Linked DNA regions of Homo sapiens: region 2 is linked to region 1. Evidence: promoter capture Hi-C in human tissues and cell types (Jung and others, 2019). All regions are on one chromosome and are shown on one strand. Each heading gives the region's core, a stretch centred on a gene start or on the middle of the fragment in contact. The rest is flanking DNA. Distances are from core to core; before and after follow the strand shown. Region 1 holds the start of PRR22 (proline rich 22). Region 2 holds the start of HSD11B1L (hydroxysteroid 11-beta dehydrogenase 1 like).

Evidence for each region. The method cuts DNA at HindIII sites, captures the fragments that hold promoters and counts their contacts. A contact is called where the count stands out against the background at its distance.
Region 2: a contact is called between the fragment with the promoter of HSD11B1L here and the fragment with the promoter of PRR22 in region 1, in 1 of the 25 tissues and cell types used here (adrenal gland).

What each region holds. Positions count from the first base shown.
Region 1 is chr19:5,779,674-5,786,765 of GRCh38, forward strand. It overlaps PRR22 (proline rich 22), which reads right to left and starts at 5,073. Exons shown (of 3, transcript NM_001134316.2): 1 at 4,858-5,073; 2 at 4,704-4,766; 3 at 3,287-4,380. The coding sequence starts at 4,987. The coding sequence ends at 3,305. DUS3L (dihydrouridine synthase 3 like) reads right to left here. Exons shown (of 13, transcript NM_020175.3): 9 at 7,076-7,092; 10 at 6,794-6,869; 11 at 5,930-6,118; 12 at 5,710-5,838; 13 at 5,467-5,602. The coding sequence ends at 5,530. RefSeq lists a silencer at 1,059-1,237. The HindIII fragment of the contact is 36,623 bases long and covers 1-7,092 here.
Region 2 is chr19:5,676,597-5,683,688 of GRCh38, forward strand. HSD11B1L (hydroxysteroid 11-beta dehydrogenase 1 like) reads left to right here and starts at 4,431. Exons shown (of 8, transcript NM_198706.3): 1 at 4,431-4,675. It overlaps MICOS13 (mitochondrial contact site and cristae organizing system subunit 13), which reads right to left and starts at 3,920. Exons shown (of 4, transcript NM_205767.3): 1 at 3,862-3,920; 2 at 2,990-3,167; 3 at 2,749-2,800; 4 at 1,826-2,052. The coding sequence starts at 3,890. The coding sequence ends at 1,955. LOC107985320 (a long non-coding RNA gene) reads left to right here. Exons shown (of 3, transcript XR_007067107.1): 3 at 125-1,733. RefSeq lists enhancers at 3,009-3,148, 3,529-3,638, 3,669-3,748, 3,769-3,868, 3,879-4,348 and a silencer at 4,399-4,608. The HindIII fragment of the contact is 40,206 bases long and covers 1-7,092 here.

The sequences.
Region 1 (7,092 bases), core at 3,823-6,322:
CGCCCCACCCCCGACCTTTTTTTTTTTTTTTTTTCGGAGACAGATTCTTGCTCCTTTGTCCTGGAGTGCAGTGGTGTGATTTTGGCTTACTGCAACTTCTGCCTCCTGGGCTCAAGTGATCCTCCCACCTCAGCCTCCCAAGTAGCTGGGACTACAAGTCCACGCCAGCATGCCTGGGTAATTTTGTTTTTTTACTATTTTTTTTTGTAGAGATGGGGTTTTGACATATTGCCCAGGCTGGTCTCAAACTCCTGAGCTCAAGCGATCCTCCTGCCTCAGCCTCCCAAAGTGCTGGGATTCTCAGTGAACCACTGCACCAGGGTCAGCCATCTCCTTTTAAGTGAAAATTTGGTCAGTCTCATGACTTCCGATTACTCTTTGGTTAAAAAAATATATATATAAAATATACATACATAAAAAATACATATATAAAATATATATATTAAAAATACATATAAAAATATGTATAAATACATATATATATTAAAAATACATATATATAAATACATATATAAATATATATTAAAATACATATATAAAAATATATATATTAAAAAATACATATATATATTCTGTGATCATTTTAAATTGCCCCACATAGCTACAACAGGCTGGGGCAGGGGGATCACTTGAGGCCAGGAGTTCAAGATCAGCCTGGACAACATAGCAAGACCCCCCATCTCTACAAAAAAATTTTTTTAGACATTAGCTGAGTGTGGTGGTGCATGCCTGTAGTTCCAGCTACTTGGGAGGCTGAGGTGGGAGGATCGCTTGAGCCCAGGAGGTCGAGGCTGCAGTAAGCCATGATCACGGCGCTATACTCCAGCCTGGGCAACGTAGCGAGACCCTGTCTCAGAAAGAAAAAAAAAAGCTACTGCTTGGGTCCTTGCAGACATCCACTGTGTGACCCTCACTCCACATTAATCTTCAAGAAAAGTGATCCAGGTCCTTGCCCCACTTCCTCATCAGCCAGGACCTCCCCGACACTTGGGATACCTGGTTTTAGTTTCAGAGATACCCCTAATGAGGCTTCGGGGAGAAGGAGTTGAAAAGCAGCTGAGAAAAGTGGGCTTGGGGCTGGGCGCGGTGGCTCACGCCTGTCATCCCAGCACTTTGGTAGGCTGAGGCGGGCGGATCCCCTGAGGTTAGGAGATCGAGACCAGCCTGACCAACATGGTGAAATCCCGTCTCTACTAAAAATACAATTAACCAGGTGTGGTGGTGCACACCTGTAATCCCAGCTACTCGGGAGGCTGAGGCAGGCAGGAGAGTCACTTGAACTCGGGAGGCGGAGGTTGCAGTGAGCCGAGATCACGCCATTGCACTCCAGCTTGGGCAACAAGAGCGAAACTCTGCCTCAAAAAAACAAAAGTGCACTTGGAGTCTCTCCCAGCCTGTGTCCCCACGGGTCAAACAGTGATGAATGGGGATCACTGCAGATGCCAGGAGGGCACATGGCACAGTCCCTGGGACAGGGGGACCCTGTCTTGAGGGCCACAGCTGCATGGCCCCGAGACACTACCCGGAGTTGTTTTTGTTTTTTGAAATGGAGTCTTGCTCTATTGCCCAGGGTGGAGTGCAGTGATGTGATCTCGGCTCACTACAACCTCTGCCTCCCGGGCTCAAGCAATTCTTGTGCCTTAGTCTCCTGAGTAGCTGGGATTACAGGCGCCTGCCACCATACCCAGATAATTTTTGCATTTTCTTTTTTTTTTTGAGACGGAGTCTCACTCTGTCGCCCAGGCTGGAGTGCAGTGGTGCAATCTTGGCTCACTGCAAGCTCCGCCTCCTGGGTTCACGCCATTCTCCTGCCTCAGCCTCCCGAGTAGCTGGGACTACAGGCACCCGCCACCACACCCAGCTAATTTTTTTGTATTTTTAGTAGAGCTGGGGTTTCATCGTGTTTGCCAGGATGGTCTCAATCTCCTGATCTCGTGATCTGCCTGCCTTGGCCTCCCGAAGTACTGGGATTACAGGCGTGAGAAGCTGCGCCCGGCCAATTTTTGTATTTTCAGTAGAGACAGGGTTTCACCATTTTGGCCAAGCTGGTCTCGAACTCCTGACCTCAAGTGATCTGCCCGCCTCGGCCTCCCAAAGTGCTGAGATTACAGGTGTTTGCCACTGCACCTGGCCTCCTCCTGAGTTTTTTGAATAAGGGTTTCCGGGAGAGTAGCTCCAGAGAGCAGCAGGCACAGTGCCCTACACAGAGCCGGGACCATGGTCTCTGCTCGGCCTCCAAACACCCATCAGCCTCCTGGACTCTAGGTGAGCCTCCCAGGGCCTCCCCAAGCAGAGGCCTTGAAACCCAAACTCCGGAGACCCAGGAGATCCAGCCCGCAGCCTGGGGAAGGGGTAGGCTGAAGGTTCCCATCCCAGAGGGGTGTCCTCATCCCAGGAGGCGCTGGATGGCACTCGACCTCCTGTTTCCTTATGTGTCCCTGGGGGAATGGGGTCAGCCTCTCCAGGGCCACCATGAGCGTTTCAGGGGAGGAGGGTACAGGTGGCCACTGCCTGGACCCCCAGGAGGGCTCTCGAGACCCTGATGTGGGTAAGCAGTGACGGGAACCAGCACCCGGAGGTCGTTCTTCCGAGGCTGGGCCCATCCCATTTTGGAACGAGTAGCCAGGCTGTCCCTGCCACCCCGGACCCCGAAGTGTGGCCGGGTGGGGCCCCTGACCCTCTCCTGGGCTCCAGGTGCTGTCTCCTGTCTCCATCTTGGGTGCACATGCCAGGCCCCCTGGGTGCCGTGTGCTCCCCACCCCTTCACGCGTGGGCACTGTCTCATCCCTGCCCCAGCCCCCACCCTCAGACCATCAGGTGAAGCCCCTGCACCCACCTGTCTGTCTGAACAAGAGCGTGGCCCTTCCCGCCCTGCCTGCAGTGGCTGTGGCTTCCTGGGGACAGGAGGCAGCTGGGTGGGGATCTGGAGGATGCTCCTCAAGCCCTGCCCTGATGGCTGTGTGTCTCCAAGGAAGTTCCTGCTGCTCTGGGCAGCCTTGCTTTCCCCCACCAAACAAAGGGGTGAAAACCCTTAGAACGCGTTGAGTCTGGGGGTCAGCTCCCTCGTGCCCCAGGAGGCCCCTGCCTCTGCCAGAGGAGTCTGATGTTCCAGGGCTGGGACTCAAGGAGTTTAGGGTGTCCTGTGATTCCGGGGCTCCCCTGCTAAGAGGCCTCACTGTGAGGCCGGGGGCGCTGCCTTGCCAGTCCGCGGGATGATGGGGTGAGGGGCCAGGCGTGCATCTCCAGCCCCCTCCCCATCCCCAAGGCCCCCACGTGGACATGGAGCTGAAAGGTCAAATGTGCTTTAATGCGGGGTGGCTCCCAGGTCCTCCCTGGGCCCCGGGGGAGTGGCGCTGGCTGGGCCTGCCGGCTGCCTGGCCTTCCTTCCCGGCTTTCCCTTCTTGGCCGTCGAGGCCTTTCTCTTGCCAGACAGAATGGGGGCCGGGGTGTTGGTGGCAGGGGGCCCCGGGTGGGGCGGCTGCTCCTCGTCGAGCGCCTTGAAGTTGAAGAAGTAGTCAACGTTGGACACGGTGTCCAGGATCTCAGGCACGCTGTAGTCAAAGGACAGCAGCTCCTCGGGCAGGCACAGCGAGCGGATGTCATCGGCTGAGTTCCCACCACTGCTGTCAGGCAGGGCCGGCCCAGGGACCTCGCACAGGGTACCCTCAGGCTCAGAGGCGCCTGGCAGGCAGTCGAAGAGCTTCATGGCGTCCTCCAGCAGAACCTTGTCAGGCAGTGCCAAAGCTCTGGCCGTCTTGGGGGCCTTGGCCTTGCCTGCTCCCAGCAGGGCCCCCTCCTTGACCTCGGCCACCTTGAGCTCGCTGAGGCCCGGTGGGTACAGGGGCACCCCAGGTCGGGCCCCACTGCCCTGCAGCTCCTTGACGGGGAAGGCCAGGGGTTCGGGCCCAGGGAAGTGGCCGAGGTGACCCTGGAGGTGGCTGTAGGCGTCTGGGGGCAGTGTGGGCTCTGCAGGCAGCGTGATGAGTACAGGGGGCGGCTTGTTCTCCTTGGGGGGTGGGGGTGGCAGCGGGGCCGGGCCTTCCTCTAGGGGCGGTAGGGGCAGCTCCACGAAGGCGGCGGGCCCTGCGTCCCCCACAAAACCCAGAGCCTCTGGCCCGGGGCCCTCAGGCGGGAAGTAGGGCAAGAGAAACTGGGGCCCCCCGGGTGCCTGCTGGTAGTGGGGGTATGGAGGCAGCCCCGGGGCCTTGAGGTAGGGCTGAGGCTCCAGGAGGTAGCTGCCTGGGGCGGAGGGGACCCCCGCTGGCCCCCCGCTGCTTGCTGCCAGCTTATACAGGGCTGACTGGCCCAGGTCGGGGGTGGTCCACTCGATCCGATAGATGCGGGGGTCGAAGAAGCACCCGCATGGGGCCATCTGGAAACCTGTGGGCGGCAGGCGGGTGCCCTGAGAGCAGCTGCTGCCTGAGGGGCCCAGCCCAAGCCTGGGGGCCTGTTTGGGAGATGCCACAAGAACCTTGCCATTGGGGGGCCCCTTTGGGGGACGACATAGATATTGCTTTGGGGCCCTGGCTGGGTGATGGATGACACAGAGCTTGTCTTTGGGGCTCATCTGGGGGACCTGTGTGAAGCATGGGGAGCAGAGGCCATGCCTTCAGGCTCCCACTTAGGGACGGGGCAGGGGCAAGATGGGCCTGCACACTCAAACCCACTCCCAGCCTCGTCAAGGGCTCAGGGGAGGCCGGTACCTGCTGGTGGGGCTGGAAACACCTCTTTCTCTGGGTCTGGGGGATGATACAGGTTCAAGGAGCCTGTGGACAAAGGTGCCCAGGTGGGTAGGGCCCTTAGGCGGGTGGGCCCCTGAACCCTCTCCAGCAGGTGCTCCCACCCACCCGATCGTACCCATAGCGGGAGGAGGCTCGGCACAGGTGGGAGCAGGCTGGTTGCCCAGCACCTCAGCCCCCTCCAGACTCTGCGGGCTGAAACCTTCCTGGGGAGCTGCAGGGGCACAGAACGGTTTGGGGTGCTGCATGGGGCAGCGGGGGGCCCGGTCCAGACAGGCCAGGAGGGCGGCAGTGGGAGTGCAAGTGGCCCAACCGGAGAACAGGCTGAGAACCTGGTGGGGTTCTGTTTGCCTGGTTACTCGGGGCAGCGGGTTCCAGCCTGCAGCGCGCCCACTGGTTGGGGTTCTGGGTGTTGGGGGCAAGCAGGGGCAGACGTTGGCAGACATGGTCATCACCATGGGAGGGAGGATTCTGGGCCAGGCCTTTGCCTCTTCCAGCAACACCCCCCTAACAGCTTTGAGGCCGCCTCCTCCAGGCAGGCTGCCCTGATCCACACCCACACAGGCTGAGGCCCCCCGGGTCCTCAACCCGCTACCTTCTTGGGGGTCAAGGCCTCTCTGGGCACCAGCAGCACCCAGCTTGGGGCAGGGCCCATGGAGGCAGCTAAGAGGTTTGGGGAAGGTGGGGGCCGAGGAGGGGCTGCTTCAGGGTCACAGAAAGGCCTGGATTTTAAAAGAATAAAATTTATTGTACTCTCCTCGCCCCAGGGTGCCCCTGGGAAAGCCTGAGGCTACTTGTACGCGTTGGCCTTGTGCTTCGGCAAGAAGGCGAAGCTGGGGGGCACTGGCCCAAGGAGCATCTCGCTGTGGGAGAGCAGGTGGAAAGCGAGGTCAGGCCCAGGACCTGCAAAGTACCCTCCGTGACCCCGGGCCCCCGACTGCAGCTCCCCAACTCCAGCCCACCCAGGCACCTGATGCGGATCCAGTCGGCTGCCTTCTGGCTGGCCATCAGCGTCTCCAGGTAGTCGCGGCCCAGGTAGTAGGGCGGCCGCTCGTTGATCCTCTGTGGGAGCCGCTCCAGCAGCCCCACGGGCACGTACCTGCGGCGGGTGGGCGGGCAGGACAGGCTTGAGTCAGCTCTAACCAGCCGCGGCCCACGCGCCGCCCACCCCAGCCAGCCCCGGTGCCCACCGGCACAGGAAGGACAGCCACTCGAGCAGAAAGCGCCGGGTCTTCTCCACGCCCTGCGTGTCCGAGCCCCAGTGCTCCAGGCCGTAGTTGGTGAAGTCCCGCAGGATGTCCAGGCGCTCGGACGACGAGATGTCCCAGTGCCGCTGCTCCTTGATCTCCGTGAAGAGCCACGGCTTGAGCAGGGCGCCACTGTGGGACGGGTGACGATCAGTGGGCCCAGCCACCAGCCTGCCTGGGATCGTGTGGCCTCTGCTTCCATGGCCTGGCCTGAGCCGGAGCCCAGACCACAAAACCTACAAGCCTAGTAAGCCTCCCAGCTGCATGCACACAACCTTCAAAGCACAGGACTTTCTTTTGTTTTTTCTGAGACGGAGTCTGGCTCTGTCGCCCAGGCTGGGGTGCAGTGGTAAGATCTCGGCTCACTGTTCAACCTCCGTCTCCCAGGTTCAGGCAATTGTCCTGCCTCAGCCTCCCTAGTAGTTGGGATTACAGGCGTGTACCACTACACCTGGCTAATTTTTGTATTTTTAATAGAGATGTTTCACCATGTTGGTCAGGCTAGTCTTGAACCTCCGACCTCAAATGATCGGCGTGCCTTGGCCTCCCAAAGTGCTGGGATTACAGGCGTGAGCCACACACCTGGCCAAAGCCCAGGACTTTCAACCCACAATCATCAGATCCCACAGCAGCAGCAATTTCCAGTCCCCTCTGCCGCAACGCAGCTGCAACTCCTGACATCGCTCTCTGCTCCTCCCATCTTGGGACCAACAGCCCACCACAGAACAGGGGTGGGTGACGGCGTGTTGGGTTCAGGGCACTGCTGCTGTGCATGAAGCTGGATCTCTAACATCCCTGGGCACTTACCGGGCAATCATGATCCCGGTGACACCAGTCTGCATGGCGCGGTTGGCATCCTCAAATGACAAGATGTCCCCATTTCCTGAGGAGACAGAGGCTGGGGTCTCAGGGAGACATGGGCAGGTGGGACCCTGGAGTTCTGCTCACCAGCCCTTCAGGAGTTTTGGCTGACCCAGTGGCTCCCATCAGGGTGGTACGAGGGGGTCCCAAGTGGGAAGGCGAACAGCCCAGAGGTGTGAGTGACCAAGGGTGGTAGGGGAGAGGGAGGTGGCTTCCCGGAACACCCACCGAACAGGGGCATGGGG
Region 2 (7,092 bases), core at 3,181-5,680, 100 kb before region 1:
TTCCCCAGCCCCTTCCCGCCTTCCCAAAGTCACCCCTAGACCTGCCTCAGCCACCTCTGCTTTCTGGAGCTCCACTTCCATGGCCCCCCAACTCCCCTGACCCCAGGCATGTTCTTGCACACAGGTGCCAGTGGATGGGTGAGGACGAACTCATGGGATAAAGCCTGTGACCCCAGGGAAGAACTAAGCCACATTCGTGGAGCTGCAGGACCCGGCCGCCTGGATGGAGGGGAGGGGCCAGAAAGCAGCTGCTCACTGGCCTCGTCCAGTCCTTCCCCTCTAACAGTGACGGTAACAGGTGTGAGGCTGCAGAGGCCTCCTGGAGCGGACGGACGCCCTCTGGCCCAGCCATGGCATCACAGCACCGAGTGCAAACCCCTCCTGTCCTCACAGGCTGGGGCTGGGGCTGGGGCTGGGTGCCTGGGTGCGAGGCGACTAGAAATTCTGCATCCCCTGCGAGGGTTTGTGGTGAACAGCCTGGGCTCCGGACAGGCTGGGCAGACAGAACTGTCTGTCTGTGCAAGTTTCTTCGTCTGTAAAATGGGCCTGCAGTCTGCTCCTTCCTGGGCCTTCGGGAAGGACTTGGTGGACAGTGTCAGGGGACAGTGAGTGCGTGGGTGCTCCGGCGAGCACCGGCTTCCTCCTGCAGCACTGAGGGTCAGTGATGCTCCCCTGCCCTGCTCATCCCTCCCTCACCCTAGACCTGCCCCCACCACTGCTAAGGCCCAGTAAGGACAGGGGCATATCAGATGTGGGGGACCTGTCCCGGGACCACGCTCCTGGGGGGAATGGGGTGGGCAGGCCCTGTGGACTCCCCTTCTACCAGACTAGGCCGCTGCTCCCAGCCACACCCCTCCTACGCCCTGCTCAGGCCAGTGGCTTCTCCTCTCTGAGTGGGACAGTGGGGGAGATGCCCCGGCCTCTAGTCTCTGCTCCTCTCCTCTGTAACAGCTGTCCCCTCCTAAGCTCAGTTCCCTATACCAAGCAACATAAACCCCTGAACTCATGGGAACGGGGACCCTGTCCCAGCTCGGTGAGCATCACCTGTCTGCTCCCTGCTCCCAGGGCAGCATCCTACGGAGGCCTCTGGCCCCACCCAAGCTCCCCACCACCCCCATGTGTCTGGAGCCACCAGACTGGTTTCTGGGCACAGGCCTCTTGCCATCACCCAACCCCGTGGATCGCCCTCTGTGGCTGGGTGCTGGGAGCCTCCCAGGGCTCATGCCTGATGCGGGGGAACCATGCAGGCTGCCAGGTAGCCTGGCCAGTGTGCGGCAGGGGTGTCAGGGAAGGCGTCCCAGGGGAGAGGCAATGTCCGGGAGACCCTCTGAATGGCAACAAACACCTGGATTTCCTTCAATGACCAGGATTCCCCTGCTAGGGTTGTCGGGAGAGGGTGGAATGAGGGTGGAGTCCGGCCAAGGAAGGGCCGGGACAGGACTGCGGACAGGAGCTGAGGAGGGCAGGAACCAGTGGCCCTGGGGGCTCCTGCCCTGTGTCCCGCAGGGAAGCAGACCCCACTTCTATCCACTCTGGCTCTTCCACTGTCCTACCCTGGTCTCAGCCCTCCAAAACCAAGACCCTCCACAACCCAGGCTTGGCCAAAGCACTTTCCTGGCCCCAGAGCACAGCCTCTGGAGCACCGGGAGCAGCCGCTCTGACCTCTGACTCCCCGCACCAGAGCAGACGGCAAAGGGGAGTGCTATGGCCTGTGGTCAAGGTCAAGCCCTGACAAGCCATCAGGAGCCAGAAGCCCAGGCCTCGGTGCTCTGGGCACCACCAGGCCAACCCTGTGCTCCCTGGGGCCAGCACACGGGTCAGGGAACACTTCTGAAGTCCTTTATTGGGCCGGCAAGGCCGGGAGCTGCCCTCGGAGTGGGGTCCCAGTCCGGAGTCTTCAGGTCAGTGGCAGCCCTGCCCGTTCTGGCCGGGGCAGGCGGCCCCTGCTGACTCGCTACTTGGTGCGCGCCTTCACATACTCCCAGCCCTCCTTGGAGTACTCGCGGGCCTTGGAGGGGGCCACCGACAGAGCTGACATCACCGTCATGATGCCTGTGGGAAAGGGACGGCCACTGGTGATACTCCCCTCCCAGCCTCACCCAGCCTCCAACCCCTGGGAAACTCTAGAGTTTGTTTTGGGCGGTGGGGGGTGGGTGGGGGGCGGGGATGGAGTCTCACTCTGTCTCCCAGGCTGGAGTGCAGTAGTGCAATCTCGGCTCACTGCAACCTTCGCCTCCTGGGTTCAAGCGATTCTCTTGCCTCAGCCTCCCAAGTAGCTGGGACTACAAGTGCGCCACCATACCAGGCTAATTTTTGTATTTTATTTTTTTGAGATGGAGTCTCGCCCTGTCGCCCAGGCTGGAGTGCAGTGGTGCAACCTCGGCTCACTGCAACCTCTGCCTCCTGGGTTCAAGCAATTCTCCTGCTTCAGCCTCTCAAGCAGCAGCTGGGATTACAGGTGTGCACCACCACGCACGGTTAATTTTTGTATTTTTAGTAGAGATGGGGTTTCACCATGTTGCCCAGGCTGGTCTCGAACTCCTGACTTCAGATGATCCGCCCACCTCAGCCTCCCAAAGTGCTGGGATTACAGGCGTGAGCCACTGTGCTCGGCCTCCTTTCCCTTTTAGATCCCTAAGAGACACGTGTCGGGCAGGAAGGAGGATGGACAGAAAGGAATGGCCAGGAAGTGGGGAGAGGGGCTAGACTGGGGTGTCTCCCTCCAAGCAAAGAAACTGGGTGCCTTACCTGCATTCCAGGAGTCACGGATGGGAAAGTAAATCTTTGGAGGGGCTGGGAGCTGGGAAAAAGAGATGGGCAGAAAGAACTGGTGAAAAGGCTCAGCAGCCCATCCCCAGAGGCGGAGGGAGGAGGACAGGCCGGAGAATCAGGTCAGCATCAATATGGAGGACAACATCGTGCAGGGCTGGAGGGACCTCCCAGAGCTGACCACCCGCCAAACCCTGGCCTCGTTCCCGGCCCGTAGTACCTGGGGTATCTGCAGGCCTGTCTGCTGACACACGTACTGGCTGAACTGGTACATGGCGGGGGGGACCACCTCCCCAGCCTTCTGTAGGGCTGCCTGGCTCTTGTCGCTGGGCCCCAGCAGCTCCTGGTCGTACACCAGGTAGACGGCGCCCCCAGCCACACTTCCCTTGATGAGGAACCTGCGGGCAGGGACGGGAGGAGCAGAAGCTCAGCGGACACTGACAGCCACCCTCAGGGGCCAAGGCCCACGGGGAGAGTGAGACCCTCCTGAGGGCTCACCGTCCACAGGGTGACACTCTGTAGTGCAGCACCGTCGACCCAGACCCCTATTATATACAGCACTCGTTTTACAACGTGCAAGGCAGGGCGGCTGGACGCCACTTGAACTGATGAACTGAAACCCAGAGGGGGAGAGTGGGTCACTCAAAGTCCCACAGTGAGCAGGGGCAGTGAAGACGTAAGATCTTGACCTTCTAGAAGCCTTCCAGCCCTGGAGAAACCAAGTGTCCCTGGGCGCCTCCTGCCCGCTGTCACTCGCAGCTCCGAGCACGCATTCACTTCTCATCCACGCCAGCGGCAGGATTCACCGGCATTCCCACCTCACAGAGAAGACAACTGAGGCTCGGAGGCGGAGGCTGACACCGCGAACTGAACGCCAAGGGCTCGCTGGGAAGCAGGAGGGAGGGGATTGGCGACCTCGGGAAGCCCCGCCCCTCTGAAGCCTCAGTTTCCCTATCTGGCCCATAGGCGGGGAACGAAGGGGAAGTGACTCTAAGGGAAGCGAAGAGCAGATCGGGACCAGACTGGAGACAGGGATGCCCACAAAAATGGACTTTTTCGGGGACTCGGGTCCCCTCCGGCGCCCCCACGCACCTCATCAGCGACCACACCCGGGCCACCATGGTCGCTCGGATCCACGCGCAAGGACACTCGGCTCGCCCGCCGCTTCCTGTCGCGGCGCCGCAGAGGCCTCTGGAAGGTGTAGTCTTTCTTGCCCGACGCAAGGTCCTCTGGGAGTCGTGGTGTCTTGCGGCTCTGAGACTCCAGAGAAGGGCTGCGGTCTCGCAGCGGAGGGCCGCTGGGAAATGGACGCTTTAAGGCCCGGGCCGCCGCAAGGCTGTCTGGGAAATGTAGTCAGCACGGCGCTGTTTGCACCTGGCCGCGGAGCCTCCTGGGAAATGTAGTTCGGCCCGGCCCTGGCACCGTGAGGGGAAAGAGGCGTCAGGTGCCTGGCTGAAGCCTGAAGGTGACCCGAAAACAAGTCAGAGCCCGAGAGATCCACCCGCGCCCGCGCGGGGGACCAAGGGCCCGGATTTAAGAAGAGTGTGCCTACAAGGCGGTTGTCACGGCAACGAGAGGGCGGGATTGTTCGAGCGCTGCGGCCCCCTCACGTGATCGATTCGGAGGCGGGGCGTCCGCCCAGTGGGCGGGGCCGGGCCCCTGCTGGGAGGCGAAGACCAGGCGGGCACTGTTGCCCGGCGACGCTCCGGCGCTGGGTCCCCGAGGCCCGGCCCCTCCCCGGGAGGAGGTGGGCTTCGAGTCACGTGACCCGTGCCCTACGGGAGGGGGTGCGGTCGGGGACCCGGCAGGAGGCGGCCGAGAAGAGAGGACCGTGGGGGCGTTCGCGTGGCTCCCAGCCCGGGACCCCACCCCCGCTGGACAGTGGGGGAAACTGAGGCCTGAGCGGGTGAGTGCACGGTTTAGGGGTGCGCAGAGGGTCACACGCCCGCTTTGTTCAGAGGGGAAGCTAAGGCCCGCCGAGGTCAAGAAGGGGCCGATGCGTTCTGCAGGGCTTCCCCCCATTTCTCCCGCATTTCGGCCGGGCTGCTTCAACCGTTCATCTGCCCATCCATCCATCTGTCCCCCACCCGTCTATCCATCTGGCCATCCACCCATCTATCCTTCCATCTATCCATCCACACTTCCGTTCATCCATCTGTCCGCCCATCCATTCATCCATCTGCTCCCCCCATCCTTCCACTCATCCATCTGTCCACCCATCCATCTATTTATCTGGCCACCCACTCATCTATCCGTCCATCCATCCATCCATCCATCCATCCATCCATGCATCCGTCCGTCCATCCATCCATCCATCCATCCATCCATTTATGTGTTCCCATTTATCCATTCATACATCCATCCACTCATCCATCTATCCACCCATACATCTCTCCGTCCATCATCCATCCATCCACCCATCCATCTATTCATCTGGCCATCCACCCATCCATCCTTCTATCTATGCATCCATACATGCATCTGTCCATCTATCCATTCATCCATCCACCCATCCGTCCACCCGTCAGTCCATCTGGTCCCACTTCCCCCTGCCGGGCTGCTGCAGTCAGTGTAGAGCTGGGGGTGGAAAGAGGGATGAGCAGAGGAGCTTCATGGGCTGTCCCTGGAAGGGGAAAAGGTGGAAGCTCGTTTCTTGCTGTGGGCATGCCTGGTGTGTCTGGGAAAGGTGAGGAGTTCATTATTTTGAGAACTGAACGATTCATAGATGGGGCCGTGGGAGAGAAGGATAGACAGGTAGTCAGGGGCTATACCTGCAGGGCCTCATGGGGTGCAGTGAGGAGCCTGGTTTCCATCAGTTGCAGTGGGGACCCCTGAGAGGGTTTGGAGCAGGAAGGGCCATGGCCATGTTGCTTTTGACACAGACGCCTTTGGCTGCATTGACAGAAGAGGCAGGGAGAGAATGAGTATGGACATGGGGAAGCCAGTGTGGAGGTGGGGGAGACCAAATCGGAGATGGAAGGGAGGCCAAAGGAAAGATGGGGGTGGTCAGGCCCGGGGTAGGGTCTAGGAGGGAGGTGACAATCTGGGAGTCCTGGAGAGAGAGAGGAAGGGACAGCTGGGGAGAGACTGGAGAGGGAGAACTGATAAGATCTGAAAACCATGAGCTCGTGGGGGTGAAAGGATAGAAGGAGGTGAGGACAATACCTGGGTCTCCCATTTAGGGACAGGGGATAGTGGGGCTATTTCTGTGATGGTGAGCTGGGAAGAGAAGCAGGTATGGGGTGACATGCTGAGCCTGGATTGGGTCCTGCTGGTTCTAAGGGGCCTGGAGGTTGTCAGGAGGAGACACCCAGAAGACAGCAGAGGCAAAGAACCTAGGGCTGGACCTACAGATGGGAGATTTAGGGACTCCTCAATGATCCGCTCCATCTGGTCTGTCTCAGCTTCCTGGTTCTGGAAGTCCCCTTCCCCTTGTCCCATTGACTTTTTTTTTTTTTTTTTTTTTTTTTTAGACAGAGTCTCACTCTGTTGCCCAGGCTGGAATGCAGTGGGGCGATCTCAGCTCACTGCAATCTCCACCCCGCTGGGTTCAAGCAATTCTCCTGCCTCAGCAGGAGACCCCATCTCTACAAAAAATACGATGATTAGTTGGGCGTGCTGGTGCACCCACTTGTAGTCCTAGCTGCTCCATTGGCTGGGATCACAGGCATGTGCCAGCATGCCCAGCTAATTTAGTATTTTTAGTAGAGACTGGGTTTCTCCATGTTGGTCAGGCTGGTCTCGAACTCCCAGCCTCAAGTGATCCGCCCACCTCGGCCTCCCAAAATGCTGGGATTACAAAGTGTAATCCCAGCCTGTGCAACAAGAGTGAAACTCAGTCTCAAAAAAAAAAAAAAAAAAAAAGAACCTGGACTGTTTCTCTCTTTCACCTTCTCCCTGGAATTAGTGAATCAGCTCCCATAGCTGAAATCATAAATCATATCTTCATCTGGATGACGCAGGCACCTCTGTCTCCAACCCAGCCCCATGTGTCAAATGCCTTCTGGGTGTCTCCAGAGAGCGAGCTGTCTCTTGGCTTCCTCACCTCTCGCCTCCCACGTGCCTCATATCACTCCATGATCAATCTGGTACCTATTGAGCACCTACTGTGTACCTGGCACAGTTTTGGGCCCTGAAGACCCAATAGGGAACAAAGTAGAAGATTTCCATTTCCTTCCTGCCCTTATGGAGCTGATGGTCTACAGGGAGAGAAGGATGGTGGAACGAGTAACAAATGGTCCTTGGGCTGGGCACGGTGGTTCACACCTGTAATCCCAGCACTTTGGGAGGCTGAGGCGGGAGGATCACTTGAGCCCAGGAGTT